Regions from separate parts of the Homo sapiens genome. Here regions 1 and 2 are each linked to region 3. Evidence: promoter capture Hi-C in 16 types of primary human blood cells and fetal thymus (Javierre and others, 2016). All regions are on one chromosome and are shown on one strand. Each heading gives the region's core, a stretch centred on a gene start or on the middle of the fragment in contact. The rest is flanking DNA. Distances are from core to core; before and after follow the strand shown.

Region 1 (2,700 bases), core at 147-2,646, 140 kb after region 3:
ATAGAGAACACTCTTGGCAGCCTGTGACCTTGGGACTGCTCTTCCTTCCATGACCTAGTCTGTCACAGGGAAGCAGCATGTAACCCAGAGGTCAAGTGCTGCCTATGGCAGGCCATGGCCTGTGGGATCCTACATGTTGGGGAGGCTGTGGGCTCCACAGCCTGTGTGCCTTGTTAAACAGATGTTTGTCCTGTGCTGCTTTAGAGTGAACAGCATTAGCCTTGGGGACCACCCATGCCACTCCAGCTGCTACTCCCCTCATTCGTTCAGCTGCCCTGCCCCACTCCCTGTGCCCTGTCTCTACATGATGCTTGCACTAACAGTTTCCAAGGTCACCATCTTCATTAACAACAATTATTCAAATGCTAGTTAGTTGCATATCCATTAAACTGATTCTAAAGAGATGCATGTGTGTTTGCACGTGCATGTGTGTATGTGTGTCTGTGTGTTGGAAAGAACATTATCCATGGACCTAAAAAACAAAGCTCAGCCTGTCTTACCTGGGCAAGTTGCCTAATGGTTCATGTGCCTTTATTTCGTAATCTGTAAAATGGGCAAAATTACCCCCGTCCTGGCTATCCTACAGAGCAGTTGTTACTGTATATGTGCATAAATAAGAATAAGAGGCATAAAAATGTACATCATGTGACAGTGCTTTGTATACAGAATGAGGCAACATATGAACACACACATGTAAAAACCACAGCAAACCCGTTTTAGCCTTATAAATGCTCTGCTGAAATGTGAGGCATAATTACTGTCATTTCATCATACAGGAACGATGAAGGTCTCACAGCTGTTTGTGGCTGTCTCCCCCTCCGTGGGCCCCAACATATGGAGAATTTTCCTAGCTTTGCTTTTCAGCATCATGGGGAACAGCTGATGAGGCACAGCCAGGCTGGCAATAGTCTTCCTGGAGCAAACTTGGCAGATCCCTTGAGGCCCCAGTGGTAGTGGGAGTGGGAGGAAGCCTACCTCTTCTCCCTCCTCCCATTCCCCTCCAAGGTTCTTAGATGCAAGTGTAGTCCATAGTCCTCTGGACCAACTCCCCCAAAGGGACATTCTCCCTGCAGGGAATCCACAGTCTTTTGTGGGAAGAGCAGTAGGCACAGTCCCATCTTATGTGACCTCATTTAAGGTCACAGTATTCACTGGAATCTCTGAAAACTCTGCCGAGTCGAGACTGGTGGACACCCTGCTACTAGGGTGACCCTCCCGCAGTCGTGGGGTATGAGAGAGGATAGGACCCCTGCGTTGGGGGTGGGAGAGGGAGATTCAGGTGATCACCTTGGGTAAAAGTCTTGCAGGGTTGGAAGGCATCTTTAAGGCTGTGGAATCTGTCCCCTAATCAGAGGCTGACTCCCTCTGCAGCTTTCCCACCCAGTGTCTTTTTCTGTCTTCACTAGCACTTCCTGCAACAGGGACTCCTTCCTTGCAAGGCAGCCCATTCCTGGCCACACAGCTCTGACTATTACAGAGCTCATCCTTAGAATGAGTCAAACCCTGTTGTGGTCTTGGACCTTCTACTCACTGGTCCTGATGTCACCGCTTGGACCACATAGAGCAAGGCAAAGCCCTCTTCCACTTGACAGCCCTGCGACTGTGATAGGCAGATGTCCTGCCCATCTGAGGCCCCTGCTCTGGACACGCAGCATCCCTAGTTGCTCTGATACACCCTCGAATGACATCGTTTCGGTGCTTCATGGTGCTCCTGAGTTCCACAATGGCTAGTTTTCTGACAGCAGGGTGGCCAGAACTGAGAGAACACTGGAGACAGCACTGTAGCCCCAGCTGGGATGCTGGTGAGCTGTGTCCCTGGGGTAGATGACTCCACCTCTCTAGGCCTTGTGAATGGAGGAGATTGGAAAAAATAATCTCTTAAGTCCCTCAAGCATTAACAATCTAAATCTAGGATTCTCTGGGGACAACTGTGCTGTCTGAGCTGACTCCCTGGAAAGAAATTTTGGCCATAAGGGACCTTCCTTTGACAGGCCCTGTCTAGAAAGGGCTGGAAGATTAAAGAGTCTGTCCGACAGTCAGCTGTTGCTCATAACTTCTCCTGGAGCTGATGGCACAGGGCCTTGGAGGTTGAAGGATAGCTGCGTCTCCACTGGACCTCGCAGGTTTCTGGTTGCTGGTCACAGAAACCATGTTTGTGCTAAGAATCTTAAAAACAAACAGCAAAACCACCCATGTTTCTGATGGACACAGGGAGGACACTTGAGCTGTGCTTTGCATGGGGATTGGAAATGGGGAGCGTTTTTTGGTCATCTCAATGACTAGGGTGGGGAGCTGCTGGCGTTTAGTTGGGGGAGGGATGGAATGTCTAATGACAGGGAGATTCCCAGGTAATTCTGAATTATCATACCCCAATTGATCTCTTTTGTCAGAAAATCCCCCCACAGTGTGCTCACACCATGGGGATGGTCTGAATCTAGCCTGTCATGTGCCTGCTGAGCCACACATCCTGGCATAAAGATGTGAAATGCAGCTCTGCCACTGCGAACTGTGCAACACCAAGAAATTATTTGACCTAAGAGCCTGTCTTCTTATCTGTAAAATGGAGTCTTGAGTAGTAGCTACATCCAAGGGCTGTTGTAAGAATTACATGTGCAATAATGCAAGAAAAAGGCTTCCCACCATGCCTGGCACAAAACAAATGCTACAAAGAAATGATGGGGCTGGGCATGGTGGCTCATG
Region 2 (2,700 bases), core at 188-2,687, 160 kb before region 3:
CCTCCCATTGAAACTGCCTTGGCAAAATGATGACTGAGACAGTGAAAGAGATCTAACTTAGCGACTCCATCTTGCTTCTAACCTCCAAACTGTCCTTGTTCATTCCTAGGGGTAGGCAGAACTAACTTTGGGAGAAACTTAGTTTATAGTTTAAACAAAGTTGGTAACAGCTCTTTCCCAGAGCAGACTGCCTTCTTGTCTGGGGACTAGACTAACGTTAGCCCCAAGATTAGAAATTATGGTTTAGGAGTCATGCAGCTGGAGGTTACAAGATTCTGACCCTCCCCAAACTGCTTCTAAGATCAGGGCTTGAGATATTTTGCAGACCCTGCACCTGACGGATCAGCTGGCACCACCCAGATCAATAAACTGCCTCATCTGATCTGGCGGCCCCCGCCCAGGAACTGACTGAGCGCAAGAAGACAGCTCCAACTCTATATGATTTCATCCCTGACCAATCAGCATTCCTGGCTCACTGGCTTCCCCCCACCCACCAAGTTATCCTTAAAAACTCTGCTCCCTGAATGCTTGGGGAGATTGATTTGAGTACTAATAAAACTCCAGTCTCCCACACAGCTGGCTCTGCGTGAATTACTCTTTCTCTATTTCAATTCCCCTGTCTTGATGAATTGGTTTTGTCTAGGCAGCGGGCAAGGTGAACCCCTTGGGCGGTTACACCATCCTCTGCACTTCTGTAGCATTTGGTACAGGTGTTTATCACAGGGCTTCTCTCATAGGGTGGTCAGCGTTTCCTTTCCTTTTTTCTTTCTTTTTGGTTGCTTTTTTAAATTTAACATTTTATTTTTAATTAGCCACTCTTTCTCATTGCCTTTGTACCCTTGCTGTTTAGCACCAGGCTAGTACCTAGTAAAAACTTAATAAATGACTGTGAACTGGACTGAACTTTGAGCTCTGCATTGTAGTTCATTCCCGGCCGTCTCTCCTCCACCATCACCAGGGCTGGATAGAGCAGACTCTTTCCAGGCTGAAGATGAGACCCAATCGGACGACTCTGCATTGTTGCAGCTAGAGTCAAGTTAGGATAACGTCAACAGTAATTCACACCCAACTGGCATGTAACAGTTTACAAAGTCCTTTCATCTAACTCTTGTCTAGTCAAGTCGATATCAATTGTCTGCCAACCAGGATGGGCAGCATTAAAGAATTAATTATTAAACTAAACAAATGCTTGTAAAGCATCTACATTGTACCAGGCACTACTCCAGGAGGATTCAAAGACAGATCAAGAAATCATCCCAGCAAGATGGGGAAAATAGTGCCCAAAGAAGACAGCCGAGGGTCTGTCCCCAAGAAGCTTGTTTCTTGGTGGAGAGGAGGGCTAGGGGAAGGGGGAGGACAGGCCATAAACAGATAAACCAGAAAAGATCAGAGAGGGGTAGGTGCTATGCAGGGAGTAATCCAGGGTGAGAGGAGACAGCGCCTGGATGCAGACTGAGAATGGGAGCTCTAGGGAGGGGCTCAGGATGGTTACGGAGGATCTTGCTGGTCTCCCTAGAGGAGGTGACAAGAAGGAGCCAAGTGGGAAGGAACAAGCTTGGGGGGTTGGAGGAACTGAATAGAGATGGGCATGGCTGGAGCAAGGCAAGGGCATAAGGAGAGAGGAGGTTGGTGGTAAAAAGACGCCAAATGTGTTTGGAAGATACAAACAATAGGCCTCGCCGATGGATTGGGTGTGCTTGGGTTTTAGTTACGTGGGTGAGAGGGTGCTTGCTGAGCTGTGGGAGGCTATAAGAGTGGTTGGTGGAGCAGGGAAGTGGGCCCTTTCCTGTCAATTCATTCTTTTCCACTGAGTCTACCTGTGCATGCATGCCTGCATTCATTGAGGTAGGTAGGGCAAGTTTCTTTTGTTTATTGTTAATTTAACAAATATTGACTATACAACTTTGATGGACCCGGAATAGTGCTAGAAGCTGAGGCACAAAGGAGGCTTATATTCTGCACTTTCTGGGGCCTTGGATTCCTCATCACTGAACTGAACAGTGGCTAATTTTGTGTGTGTGTGTGTGTGTGTGTGTGTTTGTGTGTGTGTGTGTGACAGAGTGAGAGAGAAAGAAAGAGAGAGAGACAGAGTCTCATTCTGTCGCCCAGGCTGAAGTGCAATGTTGTGATTTCAGCTCACTGCAGCCTCCACCTCCTGCGCTCAAGGGCTCCTCCCACCTCAGTCTCCTGAGTAGCTGGGACTACAGGCATGCACCATCACGCCCAGCTATTTTTTTTTTTTTTTCGTAGAGATGAGGTATCACTGTATTGCCCAGGCTGGTCTCGAACTCCTGGACTCAAATGATCTGCCCACCGCAGCCTCCCAAAGTTCTGGGATTACAGGTGTGAGCCACAATGCCTGGCTCTTAATATGTTTTCAATTGCTATTCACTGAGTAGTAGTTGTGGAAAAAAATTCTATCCCTGTTTGAAACCAAAAGAGAGAAAGAAAAAATAAACTAAAGCAAAACCGTAAGCTAGAATGACAGGGACTGTGACTATCTTGTTAACTGTGATATCCCTGATGTCTCCTACAATGCACAGTACATAATGAGTATTGAAAAAATATTTGTTGAATGAAAGAATTAATGAAAATATCTCAGTTTGAGGACTCAGCCTCAGCTCAGTCTTTACGAACCTGACTGGTATATTCACACAGTGACATATTAGGCTGCAGTCAAAACAAATGAACTGTAGTGAC
Region 3 (2,730 bases), core at 198-2,697:
GCCTCTGGGTTAGATTTCCCTCAAGACACCCTAAGCTGGGGCACAGTTTCCACTGTGAGCTAGAAGTTTCCGTTTTCTTGAATGTAAATGGGGGGCGATAGTAGTCACTTCCTTTCAGTTTTTGCTCAAATATGTCACCACAGAGAGCCCTCTCTGACCATCCTGTTCCCAACTGCCAGGACTCTGCCTCCCCTACCTTCTGGATCCTTTCGCTGCTTTGTTTTTGTGAACGGCACTTTTCACTTTCTAGGAGGCTGTGTAACTGATTTATTGATTTTTGTCTGCTTTTTCCCCCCAACCCGCAAATACTAGAGCCACAGGGCAGGAGGCTTTGCCTATTTTGTTCCTGTGTCCCCAGCACCTAAAGCAATGCCAGGCACTCAATACATATTTGTTGAATGAACACGTGAAGGATGCGTGTGAAGTGTTTCGCAGGATTCTTGGCATCTTAAGATTATTGCTGCTGCTGTTGTTTGCTGTGTGACTTGAGCACATTCCTTAGCCTCTCTGGCCCTCTGTCTCGCAGTCTGTAAAATGAAAAGAGTGAACCACTAAAGATCCATGAGCTTCTTTCAAACTCTAAAAATCTTGGTGCCTCTGAATGCTCAAGAAAGTTCTTCCCAAACCTCAACAGGAACTCCTTTTTCTTTTTTTTTTTTTTGCAGTTCTCAGCAGCAGCTCAGCTGGAACTTAGCCGGAGGTGCTAAGGACTCCTTTTGCAATAGCCCTTCCTTTACTTCTTTTGACTCTGAGGATCAGAATAGGGTATAGGTTTGGGATCACGAGTCAGCCCAATGTTTCTTGGAACAGTTTCCATTCAGATAGTTATGTTTTATTTCATTGACTTTGATGTGTTGCTTCTGGCACTTTATTGTTTTCAATAGAGGGCAATTCATGATGTGCATAATTAAAGGTCATTTGATTTTCATTTCTTTGTTAAGAGTTTCATAAAAACAAACAGAGTTCAGGAGAAAGCAATTGCCAGACCATGCGCCCAGAGACCATGTGCCCTGATTTGGGATTTGGACACCTGGTCCTTGGAGATGAAGGTTCCCACTGTCCTGCCATAGGTGGGGCTCTGCCCCTGGCCTGGAACGTCCCCTGTGGGGATAGGGTCATCCCTCAGAAGGCTCTGGAGCATCTGTTTCAGGGGCTCAGGTCAACAGGACCAAGACCATCCTCTCAAGGCTCTGCCCTTTCTCTCAGGGCCCCTCTGAAGAAGTAGCTCAGAACACTCCTCTGCTTCTGTGGGGGCAGTTTCATGAGTAAAGGCAGCTTCAGGTTCCCGGTATTTGGAATTTGGTATTCGCTGAGTAACTGGGATGGCCTCGATGAGGGGCAGAGGAACAGGTCTGGCTAGTTCTGTGTTGTTTATACTGGGGATTACTTCACACGTCCCAACCGGCTTCCCCGCCCCATTTGGTGGGGGCTGGCCCTTGGCCCTCCAACTCCTTTACCCTACATGCCTGAGAAGCCAGGGACCAAGATGGATCTTCTCCTCGACATCAGCTAAGCCTGGAGGACTCTTCCCCTCAGAGACCATGGAGAGGGACAGCCACGGGGTGAGTGTGACCTCAGGCCTCGGGCCAGATTCTCCCAGCGCTGAGGAAGCAGGGCTGAGGCTGGGAGACAGGTGGGACAGCTACCTCTGTGTTTCAGGTTTGGGGGAAACTGGCTGTGCCTCTTCTAGTTTGAAGCTACTTACGATCAAGATCTCTTGGTCTCCTTTTAACGTGGTTCTAGAAAAAGCCCCTGGGAGGAGAAGCTGCTGGGATTTGGGGTCTGGCTGGTGAGCACCCCAGGGCTATGTGGCTGAGTCGTGGGTTTCCTGCTCTGTGGTCTGTGAGCACTCCTGCCGGGCATCCATAGTGTTACAGCACCAACTTTGCCGATTGGGAATCCAGGCTAATCTACTTTAATCTCATTTTTGCTGGTTGGAAAATCAAAAGCATTCTAACTGCAATTCAGGGGCATCTTGTCTAAACCCCTCACTACACTCCTAAACCTTCCCAGAAAACTGTGACTTTCTGGGTGCATTCAAGATTTTCAAGGGGATGTTTCAACCTCCGTTGGTCACTTCTTTTTGGACTTAATAACTTTCATGCTTGGGAAGTGCTTCTTGATGTTTAACCACAAGTCCTGCTACCACTCAACTTCCTTTCTTCTGCTGCTCTTGGGGTAGGAGAAAGCAGCTGGCCTGTCCTCTGTGGGAAAGCCAGTCATACACACATGAAGGCTTCCAAAGATCTTGTTCTGCTGTGCCTCCACTTTCTTTTCCTCCAGGAAATCCCTTTTGTGCTCTCATTTCTCCTTTAGGTCTTGTTTTCTGCCCCCTCCAAATTCTCTGTACCTTACCGACATGGTAGAGCCTGGGACTCTGGGAAGAATGGGCTAGCACTGGGTTTGGGAAAGATCAGCTCATCCTATGTTTTGGCTTATAGTTGGCTTGTGGTCCATTCTGCACCCCCAATGTGTTTCTGCAAACTTTACCATCATTTTTTTCCCACCATTCTTCCAGCCCCCTCTTGACTTTTCTTTCCCAGGCTGCCTCCCTTGCCCTCTGCTCTGGGCTCCTTCGTTCATGTCTCTACCTCACCAAAGTCACTTGGCCCTAGGCCTTGGGGGGTTATCAGAGCCTCTTACTGTTGAGCAGTAAGGGGGGTACACAAGGGCATGCAGAAGGTGAACCCTTAGTCACAGCCATGGGGCATCCTCCTTGGCAATATGCTG

The links. Contacts are between HindIII fragments. The CHiCAGO score rates a contact against its expected background, and 5 or more counts as called.
Region 1: a fragment that was not itself captured here is called in contact with the fragment with the promoter of TMPRSS13 in region 3 in 5 of 17 cell types (naive CD4 T cells, non-activated CD4 T cells, naive CD8 T cells and 2 more); the score reaches 6.8 in naive CD4 T cells.
Region 2: a contact is called between a fragment that was not itself captured here and the fragment with the promoter of TMPRSS13 in region 3, in 5 of 17 cell types (total CD8 T cells, naive B cells, total CD4 T cells and 2 more). The highest score is 5.6, in total CD8 T cells.

Annotation. Positions count from the first base shown.
Region 1 is chr11:117,788,606-117,791,305 of GRCh38, reverse strand. The region is part of intron 1 of DSCAML1 (DS cell adhesion molecule like 1); the gene reads left to right. Among named protein-coding and RNA genes, the nearest start is that of DSCAML1, 7.3 kb to the left of the region's middle. The HindIII fragment of the contact is 8,640 bases long and covers 1-2,700 here.
Region 2 is chr11:118,090,160-118,092,859 of GRCh38, reverse strand. All of the region lies in intron 1 of TMPRSS4 (transmembrane serine protease 4), which reads right to left. LOC105369517 (a long non-coding RNA gene) reads left to right here. Exons shown (of 4, transcript XR_007062904.1): 4 at 326-573. Among named protein-coding and RNA genes, the nearest start is that of SMIM35, 4.5 kb to the right of the region's middle. The HindIII fragment of the contact is 239 bases long and covers 1,318-1,556 here.
Region 3 is chr11:117,928,119-117,930,848 of GRCh38, reverse strand. It overlaps TMPRSS13 (transmembrane serine protease 13), which reads left to right and starts at 1,447. Exons shown (of 13, transcript NM_001077263.3): 1 at 1,447-1,562. The coding sequence starts at 1,542. The HindIII fragment of the contact is 10,649 bases long and covers 1-2,730 here.